Regions from separate parts of the Homo sapiens genome. Here region 2 is linked to region 1. Evidence: promoter capture Hi-C in 16 types of primary human blood cells and fetal thymus (Javierre and others, 2016). All regions are on one chromosome and are shown on one strand. The core of a region is centred on a gene start or on the middle of the fragment in contact, and the rest is flanking DNA. Distances in the headings are between cores, read along the strand shown. Region 1 holds the start of SLC7A11 (solute carrier family 7 member 11). Region 2 holds the start of SCOC-AS1 (SCOC antisense RNA 1).

Region 1 (6,821 bases), core at 1,576-4,075:
TCATGATGCACCATTCAAATTTAGCTCCATGATCCACGTGCAATTGACTTTTGTGTGTGTTATTAGGTAGCATACCTAGCAAGGAAACTAGGTAGCTTACAGAAGCAAATGAAGGTCTTCAGGATCCCGAGCCAATCTGGGTCCCTTAGGAACTAACATAGGGCATGATAGTACTAGGACTTTCTGAATATCTCTAATTTCTGCACATTCTCTGTTATTCTGTGAGGATATTTGCAACACGCCAGGGAACATGGCCACCAGTTGTTGTCAGATCACATCTTTACAATCTCCAACAACAGATGAAAAAAGCTGATTCTAATTCTGTTTAGAAATATCCCAGCTCAGGTAATATTCCAATACTCTGCAGCCAGAGCACTGGATTATTTTTGGCCAGGCCTAGATGATATGCCTGTATTTATAACCATGGGACAGAAATTGTTACTAGAAAACGGTAGCTACCAGTATACATTATTTCTATTTCTATTACGAGATGCTGTGAGGAAGCTAGGACTATTTCTTGTGCACAATAAGCAGTAAATAAGTATTTGCGAATAGCACTAGGATAGTCTCATAATTTGACAGCTATACTTAAAATAAGGCCTAATACAGGATGAAAAATATGTATTCATTTGCTTTGAACACATTTTTATGATACACAAGTATTTGAGGACCATCCAAACTCTTAGTTTACAAGCTTAGAACTGGCAATTTTAAGAGTTCAAGGCAATTCAACATTTTCTTTATAAACTGCATTTTCTACAGATTTTGGGGTGCTTAGAAGAGGTACACTGGTGCCCTTAGCAGCAATGTGCAGCTTTGCAAACATTCTGAGTGGTGGCCTCTATCTTACATGAAAGTACAATCCTTTTGGTTTTTAGTCTAACATCAGCCATTTTTCTTCATAATTAAAAAAAAAATACTGTGAGGAGGAAAATGTTATTTAATATTGAAAGAATAATCGTCCTTTATAATTCATTCAGTTTCCTATCTGAGTGGGGTCTTTGGCTCAACTTATGAGTTCAGTTATTTATAACAAAATTTAAAATTAAAGTGTGACACTGTGTTAATTAGAGAAAGTTGCTGTTCCCTGAGATTCCTAGTGTCCTACTTTTACCTCATATTTCTTCAGAGCTAATATGTTTCTCTTACTGGGAAAGAAGAGCTGCTCCTTAGGTCCATTAATCAGGAAAATTGTGTGAGTGAAAGGAGATGTAGGAGGAGGAAGAGAATTGGAAAGAAAAGAATCTCTATTTAGCTTCCTTCTTTGGGAGTTTTAGCAGGATTGCATGAGGAAAATGATCCATTTTTGTTTTTTGAAAGACATTAACAACTGAGAAAAAGTATTTATTTTGGTTTTATAAAAACTTTAACTTGGTGTAGCTGAAACCAATTATATAGAATTTAGATAGATAATTTAAAAAGGAGAAAATGTAGCCTCAATTATTTGGATGGCAAAGCATTGAGGTGGTGTCATTTTCTCAGGTGTCAACATAACAGAAAATGGTTCTGACCTTTTCCATGCTACTTTCCTAATGGCGATTTCTCATTTCTTTCTTTGATCATCCTCACCATACTTGACTCCCTTCTTTCCCTGCCAACCTCTCGCACACAGGCTTTTTGTTTGTGGTTTTTGTTCAAAGGTTCAGAAGCTTATTTAATGGTGCGTATAAAGGTAGCTTCAGGGTAATGATAACATTCAATTCTTCTCACTGAATCCAAAACCACATGTAACTATAGCCAAAAATGATATCTAGGATTTCTTTTCTTTTCATATTTGTTTTTTCTTGACACTTGGTTGAGAAAGTTAGAAGGGTTTAAAAATGTTTTGCCTTTTTGACTATTGCAAAGTAAATATTTTAATTTAGCTTACATTTTTAATGCATTTTAAATTTATAATAATAACAATAGTTTATATAATGTGGAAAAAAGTCATACATAATATCATTACTTTCTATAACTACCATTCTGTTTTCCTTTACAGGCTTTTGCTATATACATATTTTTATGTAATTGTAATTGTGTAATTTTGAACTTAGAAATTTTTTTTGGTAATTCAAAGGAACAACATGACAATGAAGGATATGTATCTTTTACATAGTTCAAAAAAATCACCTAGTGCTAATGAGAATCAGAAAATGACTATTTTCTGGAGTCATGGTGAATTTTGTATTAGTCACACTCGGATGGTGATTTAAAATACTGGTTTATTATGAGTAGTAAGAAATAATTTTATCTTTTAATGTTGAGGAAGGCTTATAGTTGTGTGTATGTGACAGAAGTATAAAGTGTAGAATCTTTAATTTTGTAAATATTGGATTTGACTGTATTGCCTTATAAAAAACTCAAAATAAAAAAATAAAAAGCATTACACAAATTATGAAATTCAAACTGTGTTGTTATAAACAATGTAGCTTTAGGATACATTCTACTCACAAAACAGTCGCATGTAAAATGTTTTTATACACGCATTAAAGAAAAAGAAACTCCTTAAAATGAAGTAACTATTTCCTGTTTCATTTTGTTTGAACAGCTTTTGTTGCTCACTACGAGTTGCTTTAAATCTCTGGGAAGGTCTGTTCCGAATTTACTACTTCTGGATTGGCTAAAATCTCTTTAAAGTGTGTGCTTTGTTCTCTAAAAAGCTTAGGTCAGTTGAGCAACAAGCTCCTCCTGTTTTTTTCTTTTTTTAAAAAAAAGAGCTGAGTAATGCTGGAGGCTTCTCATGTGGCTGATGCAAACCTGGAGAATTTGCATCATCATTTAGCTGTAGTAAGTTGGTGTGACAGGCAGGCGCTTAAATACAAGCCCATGAGGAAGCTGAGCTGGTTTGTAATGATAGGGCGGCAGCAGCAGCAGCAGCAGCAGTGGTGGAACGAGGAGGTGGAGAATTGAGAGCACGATGCATACACAGGTGTTTCTGAGTAGTAATTAGATCGCTGTGAAGGAAAAAGCACACCTTTGAGTTTTCACCTGTGAACACTATAGCGCTGAGAGAGACAGTCTGAAAGCAGAGGAAGACATCGATCAGTAACACCAAGAGACACCAAAGTTGAAAGTTTTGTTTTCTTTCCCTCTGTTTTATTTTTCCCCCGTGTGTCCCTACTATGGTCAGAAAGCCTGTTGTGTCCACCATCTCCAAAGGAGGTTACCTGCAGGGAAATGTTAACGGGAGGCTGCCTTCCCTGGGCAACAAGGAGCCACCTGGGCAGGAGAAAGTGCAGCTGAAGAGGAAAGTCACTTTACTGAGGGGAGTCTCCATTATCATTGGCACCATCATTGGAGCAGGAATCTTCATCTCTCCTAAGGGCGTGCTCCAGAACACGGGCAGCGTGGGCATGTCTCTGACCATCTGGACGGTGTGTGGGGTCCTGTCACTATTTGGTGAGTGCGACTTTTTCTCTCGTGGGGGCGTGGCTGTGGGGCTGGAAAGCTTGCTTTCTGGGAAAGCAAATGGTAGTTTTTGAGGAGTGAATGGATGGCAAAGGCCACACCAAATTTTTAAAATTTTTGTTCGGGTACGTGAACTACCCAGATGCAGCATCCGCTGTTGGTGTGATCTGGAACACCCTCAAATTGCTTCCTACAGGCTGTACTTTCTTTTCCTGACTAAGACAGGCTATCTTCTGACTTTTCTCTGTGGTGATGAGAGCAAAGGCTAACTTTCATGACCCAGTAAAAAACATGCACACTTTCTGTGCCGGGCAGTTGTACACTTAGCTTGGGCATTCTGGCAGCTGGCATGCTGAATGAGACACCTGTGAAGTGGAACCTGGCATGGGCTATTTAGACATAGAACGGAGTGTTCAGCAGAAGTCTTACTGACTTTTTATTAGCCAAACAAATGGGTGGCAGTCTTTATAAAAATATTTTTTAAGTTCATGTGCTTGTCACCTCTTAATATCCTTTCAAAAGTCCTTGACATGGGAGAGATGTATGATGGCGCATAACTCAATCCCTATCATAATGGGGTATATTGCAATGGCCTGAGCATATTTCAAATTACTTTTCAACCTTTCATCTCTTCTCAATACCCATACACTTTTGCAATATAAGTTTTAAAACTTCAGTTGGGCGTTAGTTTTCTGTACTTGCCCAGATCTGTTTTTTTCATTATATTTCACTTGTTCTCCAGGGACACAGAGAATTTGTCCACCTGTTCACTAAATTAATCTGAAGGGAACTGGCAGAAGTATAATTATGAATTTTTCTTCAAAGTTTATGTCTCTTCTATTGATCTGAGAATTAATAGTAAAGAGGTAAATAAATGCCCCCTTATGGAGTAGGCAAATTACTAGAGAGCTACCTGAGTTTGTTGTAAAGATGATAAAAACTGGTGAACTGTCAAACATTAAATTTGATTTATGCTATGAGGATTTATTTACTCTTCTTGGGAAAGATTCTGTACTTTAAAGTTGCTCTTTGTCTTAACTCTGGGACTAACACTAACTAACAAGTACTAACGCTAACTCTAGGACTAATTAACAAGTACTAACTCCTGTTCCCATGTGTACCAATCAATTCATTCTTTCTACTCAGGCCTTGTGATGTTTTAAATCATTGGTTTGACACTCATCTAGAGAACTCAAATTCCATTTTTTTTTTTTTTTTGAGACAGAGACTCGCTCTTTGCCCAGGCTGGAGTGCAGTGGTGTGATCTCGGCTCACTGCAACCTCCGCCTCCCAAGTTCAAGCAATTCTCCTGCCTAAGCCTCCCGAGTAGCTGGGACTACAGGTGTGTGCCACCACGTTGGGCTTATTTTTCGTATTTTTTAGTAGAGATGGGGTTTCACCATGTTAGCCAGGATGGTCTCGATCTCCTGACCTCGTGATCCACCCACCTCAGTCTCCCAAAGTGCTGGGATTACAGATATGAGCCACCGCGCCCGGTCCTCAAATTCCATTTTTAGGAAGAAGTTATTTTAAATAGAACTTGTTAAAACAAGTAGTATAGAAAGATTTATAGAGGAATTATTTGGGGTTTTTAGAGAGAGTTTGTGGTATTATTTATAACTAACTTGTGCTTTATTAAATATTCAGTAACAATTGTGTATCATTATTTCCCAGTATTACTTCCCATCTTTATAAAATAATTTGGAGTAATATCATTATGAAAAACTCTAATAGTACCCTTAGCCACTATTAATATTAAAATAGCTCTGGTATATGCACTTATAGAAAAAGAGAAACCTAATTGTTGATCATCTTAAATGATTTTGTGCACCCTCAGCCTTTAAATCTTCCTACAGCACTTTATATATTCAGAATAAATCAATATCTAATCAGAAAAACCACAACCAGTTTACTGGACTTTGCGTACTTATGTGCATGCAGCTTCCACTATGTGATTCAATTTTTGCACATAATAAAAGATTATTCAGATGTAATAAAATAGATCAGTATGAGTATTGAACTAGTTAAAGTGTGTTGACTTGCACTATGAAAATATGCTTATGCATAAGTATTACATATCATCTGAAGCAAAAGCTCAAAAAAAAATAAAAAGAGAGAAACAGCTAAGGAGACTAGCTAACATTACACTTGAGTTGGTATTCTTTGATTAGTAATTGCAGGGAGTGTGCTCTTGTATTAATCTACTTATCTTTATTTGCATTGCATTTGTCACTTAAGTTACCAGAAGCTTTTGGACAGGAGTGCCTCTGTAACAGCAAGCAAAGCAAAATCTGAAGAAAAAATAATCCTTCTTTTTAAAAAGACTCTAGAACTTTGGGACCAACTGTAAAGAATCTGTACATTTGGTTTAATACATATATATACTTTTTTTTTAAGTGAAGGGTCAATACATGGATTTTTACATCTTGTTTTGAACTTTTTTCATCTGGGCAAAATGGTTATGAAGCTTGAGACCTTTAAATGAAAATCATTCCCCCAGAACTCAGTTTAAACCTAGGGCAACCATCCTGGAGTTTCAGTAAAGCATATAGAGGTCTAGGTATTGATTCTCTGACAATAAATTCTGAGGTACTTAAGACTCTTCCCAATAACATTTTATATTGGATCCTTTTCTGGACAGCCTACCAACATGGCGAATGTTTCCCCATGGAGAGTGAGTTGCAACTAGTTAAAATTAGTTATAGGTAGATGAAATACATCAGTGTTCCCCAAATATTAGTCTGCAGACTCGTTACTTTAGAATTATTTGTACAAATTTTAAAATGATAGAGATTCTTGAATTTCTCTTGTGGACAATCTATACTCTCTTGATTAGAGTCTGTTTTTGGTTTGAGTGTTTTCGAATTAAAAATTATTCCCAGACTGAGCATGGTGGCTCATGCCTATAATCTCAGCACATTGGGAGGCTGAGGCAGACAGACCCCTTGAGCCCAGGAGTTCCAGACCAGCCTGGGCAACATGGCAAAACCCTGCCTCTACAAAAAATACACAAAAATTTAGCTGGGCATGGTGGTGTGTACCTGTGGTCCCAGCTACTTGGGAGGCTGACGTGGAAGGATCACTTGAGCTCAGGAGGCAGAGGCTGCAGTGAGGCAAGATTGTGCCACTGCACTCCAGCCTAGGTGCCAGAGTGATACCCTATCTCAAAAATTAAAAAAAAAAAAAAATTATTCCTAGGTGACTTTGATGTCATGATAAGTTTAGAAATCAGATATAAAATATGTAACACTAAGATTTCACTGAATATCCAAATTATATTTATATTGAGCAGTTCTGTCTAAATTATTACTAATCAGTAGTACTTTTCTACACTTTTATTCTCAGAAGTAGATTGGAAAAAAATTGTGTTCTTACATTTGAGCACTTGGCAGTACAGATAGAACTTTTCACATAATGACAGGATTTTTTTA
Region 2 (6,780 bases), core at 2,962-5,461, 2.1 Mb before region 1:
CTCTACCTTTTAGCTCTAATTTGGGCAACAGAAAGAATTTAAAGAAAACCATCTGGTCCAGCTGCTTCATTTTACAAAATCAAGGCCAAAGATGACAATGGCTTACTGAAGACCACAGAAGTAGTTAGCAACAGGGCCAAGACTACAACAAATGCCCAGTGTTTTTTCCACCATTCCACCACAACTATTGTCACATCTGAGCCTGCAGATTTTGAGACTTTTTCCTAATACCCGTCCATCTTCAGCCACTCAACTTTTCTGCATCTAAAATTGATTTCACCATCTGTCATACTGGAGAACTACTAAGACTGCTAAAATAATGTCTTCGTGCATTAATGTGCTAAATGCTTTGCATATGTTATTTCATCAAATCAACAGAAGGAAACTGCAATTTACAGATATGGACACTAAATTTCAGAAAGTCTATATATCTTTCAGAAAAGCTGTTTCAGAGGTTTCACAGCCAATGTCTCTACCAAGAATTTGAACCCAGGTCTAACTTCACAGTCCATGCTTTTTCCATTATGCAATGGAAAAAACTTTAATATGGCCCTAATCTTAAGTTTGCCAAACATTTTGCTACCACTGATGTCAAACTCCTCTGGAATCTTTACTAAGCAACTGAAAATAAACTCCATTCCCTTCAAGCTACGGAACTTCAATATAATGTCTGTTCAGATCTGTTCAAGTTCTGCTTTGACTTGTCCTGGTTAAATAAATCCAGTTTCAAATTCCACAAGATCAAGGAACTGTTTGGCCAAATGAGGATTTAAATGGAAGCTATACTCTCAGAGAATGGCTAGCTACACTGATTTTAATCAGGAATAGAGGTACCAGAATACATGGGCACAGCTTTGGGTCCTCGGGCATAGAAAACGTGTTGGCAACCTGGAATGGCATCTGTCCTTATTGTTGCGTAATAGTGTGAGGTTGACACACTGTATAACAGAAGCCCTGCCTTTCAGGAATGTATCCTCTTTCTCCTTTCCAAACCTTTCTTCCCAAAACTTGTTCAGCAGGACTCTGGGGGAGAAGACGATCAGGAAACAAACCCAGGTGCCGCTTTCGCCGCCTGGAAAAATGGTCCAATCCTTATTTTACGGCTCTCTAGGCTCCCTCCCCACCTCAGCCTCCCCTCCCATCTCTCAGGCTCTCGCAGAGCAGCCACGGGAAGGTCCAGGCGTGCCAGGTCCCATTCCACCCAAACGCCCCTCCCGCAGTCCAATTCCAGAGCCGAGAGCTGCAAAGCGGCTCCCGACCCAGGAGCTGCGGGGAGAAAGCTACACGATGTCTGCGTCAGGGACCGCGAGAGGTCCCTCTCCCAAAGAACGCCTGGGCCTGACAACGAAAACAGGAGAAAAAGAGGTCGCGCAAGGGTTCTGCCGGGAGCCAGGCCTCCGCCGCCCACCAAATGCCCAGGCCCGAGACCGCTCCTCCCGGGCCCCCGGTGCGCAGGGCCGCGTCCAGCCCGCCCCGCCCTCCAGGCCCTCGGAGGTACTGAGGATGCAGCTCTAGTCGCCTGGGGCCAGGCCCTCCGCTGCCCGGGACGGCCCTCACCTTCCGCTTGAGGCGCCGGGAGAAGGAGGGATCCGGCCGACACCTCAGGCCGGGACACTTGGACCAACTGACCCCGGCAGCTCCGCCCACTCCGCCCACAGAACGTGCGCCGTGAGAAGAATCCCATCCCGTCCCAGCCGCTCGCCCGCCAATCCTGACTCGAGAATACACGCCTGCGCATTAGCTGCCCGCCTCACCCCAGTCGTCCAATCTCAAAGCACCGGGATCCACCTTTGCCATAACAAAAGGACACTGACATCCAATCAGGATTGAGGTCGCTGTGGGCGGGACCTGGAACAGCGACAGCCAATGACAGTAAAGAAGCGAAGCTAAGCGGCGCTGGTGAAGCGGCTCATCAGGTCTATCAGGAAACCTGAGAATTGGAGTGAGAATCCCAGTGTGGAAAATCAGGAAAGAGGCTGGTATGAGCGACAGAGAAGTCATTCAGGAAAGAGGTTGGTATGAGCGACAGAGAAGTCATTCAAGTTCGAGAAAAGAGCGTTTGCGAACCAAGCAGAGAAAGTCAACGCGACACCGTCGTTCCTTAATTCTAAAAGCAGACTTTTTCATATTTTTCTTATTTCCGAAATCGGAAAGCTTATAGTTGAGCTAGTGGAATGTTCCTCTCCTCACGCCCCTCCTCCGAAACTATTATTAAATCTGTAGTGCGTGGCCATTTAATATTTTAGAATTGAGAAAATACCCTAGTGGTACTGAGGCATAGCACTTGTGCTTACCTTACCCCTGTGGAGCCTCACAGCAACCCACAGAAAGGAACTGAAGCCTGAGCGTGAACACATTTCTTGCTCAAGGTCACATATACGGTATCAAGAGTGGAGTGTTCTTCGTGACACCGTTCATCGTAATCTAGTACTTGACACAAAGCGGCATCCTGCTTTAATATTCGTTGAGTACAAGGTAGACATCCACAGCAATACATTATTATTTTGGCTTTGGCACAGCCTCCTAAGCTGTAGAGACAAGCCTTATGTCTCCCTGTTTCTTGACTTTTTACTTCTGGCACAGTTTGCTGACACATCGCCTTAATCATTTTAAGAGCTATATAAAAATATCTTCTATTCAGTGTTTTGAGAACTATGCATTTGGCTGCGACTGCAATATTCAGTTTGAGGAAATTTACTAGAATGCAATGTAGGAGCTAAATAAATGAAAAAAAATCCAACATAAATCTAATAGGAGTGCCAAAAAAGAGAGACTAGAGAGAATGGATGCAGGCAGTATTCAAAGAGTAATAACTAAGAATTTTCCAAGATTGTGGAATATTTGAATTTTCAGATTCAAGAAGTACTTATTCTTGAGCAGGATTAATATAAGAATTCTATGCAACGGTGAAATTGCAGGACACCAAAGATCAAGAGAAACTATTAAAAGCAACCTTTTGTTTTTGCTAGAACAGTATTTTTAAATATTTTTAATTGTAGTGAAATATACATAGAATAAAATTTACCATCTTAACCATTTTTAACTTCAGTAGTATAAGATACATTCCACATTGTTCTCCAACCAATCTCCAGAACCAATCTCTCTTTTCATCTTGCCAAACTAAAACTGTATACCTATTAAAGAGCAACTCTCCATTTCCTATTCCCCTCATCCTCTGGCAGTAATCATCTTACTTTGTGTTTATCAGTTTGACTACTCTAGGTACCTCACCTAAGTGGAATAATACAGAATTTGCCCTTTTATGACTGGCTTATTTCATTTAGCATAATGCCTCAGAGTTCATCCATGTTATAGCATATTGCAGAACTTCCTTTTTAAGGCTGAATAGTTCTATATATCATTTATTATGTGTATTATGCCACATTTTGTTTATTCATCTATCAGTGGACGCTTAGGTTGCTTCCTCCTTTTGGCTATTGTGAATAATACTGCTATGGACATGGGTGTGCAAATGTCTCTTTGAGACCCTCTTTTCAGTTCTTTTGGATATACACCCAGAAGTGTGTGTTAATTTGTGCTGAATCATATGGTAATTCTATTTTAAAGCAACTTTTAAAAAAGTGGTATTGACACAAGAATAGACAAAAAGAAAATTAGGAAAAAAAGGGTACCTGGAAGTTGGTATACAATAAAGATGTCTGGTGAGGAATAACTGTTTCTAAGGTTGTGGGGAAAAAACTATTATTCATTACTGTTGGGAGTGTAAATTAGTATAGTAACTGTTCGTGGGATATAGAAAACACAAGTTATGGTGGTTCTAGTTAAATTGGCTATTTATATAAAAATAAGAAATTCAATCCTGATACCACGACAGAAATAAAACTAAATTCCAAATGAAATAATGATCCAAAATGTGACAAACAAAACTCTAAACTTTTAGAAGAAAAGCGTATGTCTGTATATCGCCGTAGGGAAGAAACAGCACGATTCATTAAGGAAAGATGTAAAATATTGATTATTTTAAAATTTGGAAGTTTTACAAACAGAAGAGAAGCCATCTCTAATCAAGTTAAAAAACAAGCCACAGGTTGGCAGAATATAGTAAAACTCTCAAAATATAAAGAATTCAGGCCAGGCGCGGTGGCTCACGGCTGTAATCCCAGCACTTTGGGAGGTCGAGGCGGGTGGATCACGAGGTCAGGAGATTGAGACCATCCTGGCTAACACGGTGAAACCCCGTCTCTACTAAAAATACAAAAAATTAGCTGGGCGTGGTGGCGGGCGCCTGTAGTCCCAGCTACTCGGGAGGCTGAGGCAGGAGAGTGGCATGAACCCAGGAGGCAGAGCTTGCAGTGACATGGTGCCACTGCACTCCAGCCTGGGCGACAGGGTGAGACTCCGTCTCAAAAAAAAAAAAAAGAATTCAGACAAATCAGTAAGAAAAAGACAACTCAAGATAAATATATGCAAATAACGTAAGTAGGCCACTTACAGAAGAGGAAAACTGAACGGCCAGAAAGGTTTTTAAAAAATGTTTACCTTCACTAATAATTAGGTAAAATAACATTAAAACAATTAGATAAAGGGGCATATTCATCAAGAAGACACAAAATCCTAACCACAGTGCTACAAAATAGAAATGAATCAAAAATTAATTGAATTCAAACAGTTCATTACTCCCTGCTCTGCAATTTGTAAAACAACTATACAGATAATTTAAGTATACAGAACTCAGGTCCCAAACTTTTCAGTATATTAGAATCACCTGGGAATCTTTTAATTATTCTAGTGAACAGACCACACCTCAGAATAAATTACAGTCTTAAGGAGTGAGATACAGGCATTAGTATTTTTGAAAGTTACGAAGGTGATTTTGAAAAAAGGCTGGCAAATTTCTGAACTATTGATATAGAAGACCTGAACAATCCTATCAGCCAACTTGACCTAATGGACATTTGTAGAACATTGCACCCAATAACTGAAGAACATGCTTTCTTTTCCAATGCACTTGGAAAATTCATCAAAATAGACTCCACTGTGTATCATCAAACAAATCTCAGCAAATTTAAAATAATTGAAACAGTAAAAATTATTGTCTCTACCCACAAATTAAACTAGAAATCAGTAACAGAAAGATATTTGTAAATCTCCAAATAGTTGGAAATCAAACTATGTACTTCTAAACAAACCATGGGTCACAGGGGAAGTCACACACAAAAAAATTAGAAAGTAATTTTAAACTAAAATGTAAACATAAAAAGGCAGCTCTTGCATGACTCAGCTTTCAGCTTATTTTCAGCTTTCAGACTTGGGAGGCTGAAGCAGGAGAACTGCTTGAACCCAGGAGGTGGAGGTTGTAGTGAGCTGAGATGGCGCCATTGCACTCCAACCTGGACAACAAGAGCGAAACTCCATCTAAAAAAAAAAAAAAAAAAAAAAAAAAAAAAAAAAAAAAATCCCCCTTCTGAATAAGGAAAGGCTATAAGTACAAATAGAAACCACTGAGATTGCATAGAAATATTTGATTATAAGGTGAACATTCATGCGACCTGGACTATGTGAATATTGATAATATAGTTCATCTAAATAAAGGCACAAAATTACATTTTTTTTCCTAGAGAATGGGGGAAGTCCTAATTGAAAACTGTACAAGGCAATATATTATGTGGGGGAAGAAATGATAAATAATGAAATAGAGAACTTCCAATATCTTTTTGATGTTCCAGTCTGGCACACTCTCATTGTGCACATACAAGCTGCTATTTTGTCTTAATTAGAGGGTTCTAAACGTACTGTGGATATTTAAGGTGAAATATGCTAAATGGAAGCATTTTTGATAACTTTCAAGTATAACCAGGTGTGTTGTCTGATGCTTTAAGCTCATTAATTTGCAGAACATGTTCCATCTCATTCCTAAATAAGAACTCACATTTTCTTTTTTACTCATTTTTTTCACTTGAAAGGTTATTGAATTCATTGGAGAATGAATGCTGTTCTGAATTTGGTGAGTAAAGAATATAACCTATTTGTTAAAACTTGATTTCAAAACTAGACGTAATTGTATACTACAGCCTAGTATACTATACTCAACAGTATACCATATAGCTATTTGGTAAATTAAGGTGTTCATGTATACTTTCTCAAGATTATAATTTCTGATAATAACCAAAAGTAAATAAATTTGATGAGTCATTTTCATTTATTTGTTCAATAGGTAGAGGGAATGTAAGAAATTACCAATGTACTTTTAGAGTTTTTTCAAGCAAGAATTCCAAAGGATTTCAAGGTCTTTATGGAATCAAGCTTTGGACTTTATCATAAAAATGGAAATAATTAGGAATGATTCTGTGCAGTCTCGGTGCTGTGAAAGGAGAATAAAAACGTGAGACTCCAGTTCACTCTGCCAGAAGGAAAAAAATAAGCTGAAAGCTGAGTCATGCAAGAAGCTGCCTTTTCTTCTGTTCCTAAGCAGATAGCTACAGATAAAAGGTTAAATATCTCCATAGGTAGCTACTCTATGTTCACCCTATTTCATGTAAAGTGCTGATTTGCTGCACACAAGATGAATGCATCATTCACCATTCCCCTACCTGCGCCTTTTCTCCTGCAACTTAGATTACTATACCCTCGCTCTTACCTCTCCAACCCACTTTTCCCCTTTAAATACTGAAGCTCTCAAAGTCATCCTTGGATAAAGGAACAGACCAGAGACTGTTTCTGTGATTCTGTGTTCTTTTCTTCCAGGTATGTCCTTAACCTTGGCAAAATCAACTTCTAAATTGAATGAGACCTGTCTGAGATACTTTTTGGTTTACAGTC

What was found. Contacts are between HindIII fragments. The CHiCAGO score rates a contact against its expected background, and 5 or more counts as called.
Region 2: a fragment that was not itself captured here is called in contact with the fragment with the promoter of SLC7A11 in region 1 in 1 of 17 cell types (fetal thymus); the score reaches 5.4 in fetal thymus.

Annotation. Positions count from the first base shown.
Region 1 is chr4:138,238,353-138,245,173 of GRCh38, reverse strand. SLC7A11 (solute carrier family 7 member 11) reads left to right here and starts at 2,825. Exons shown (of 12, transcript NM_014331.4): 1 at 2,825-3,381. The coding sequence starts at 3,105. RefSeq lists enhancers at 2,571-2,810, 2,280-3,479. The HindIII fragment of the contact is 788 bases long and covers 2,645-3,432 here.
Region 2 is chr4:140,368,495-140,375,274 of GRCh38, reverse strand. SCOC-AS1 (SCOC antisense RNA 1) reads left to right here and starts at 1,883. Exons shown (of 5, transcript NR_033939.1): 1 at 1,883-2,012; 2 at 5,925-5,965. SCOC (short coiled-coil protein) reads right to left here and starts at 1,629. Exons shown (of 4, transcript NM_001153484.2): 1 at 1,558-1,629. RefSeq lists a silencer at 1,340-1,539 and enhancers at 1,700-1,749, 1,445-1,946. The HindIII fragment of the contact is 4,110 bases long and covers 2,157-6,266 here.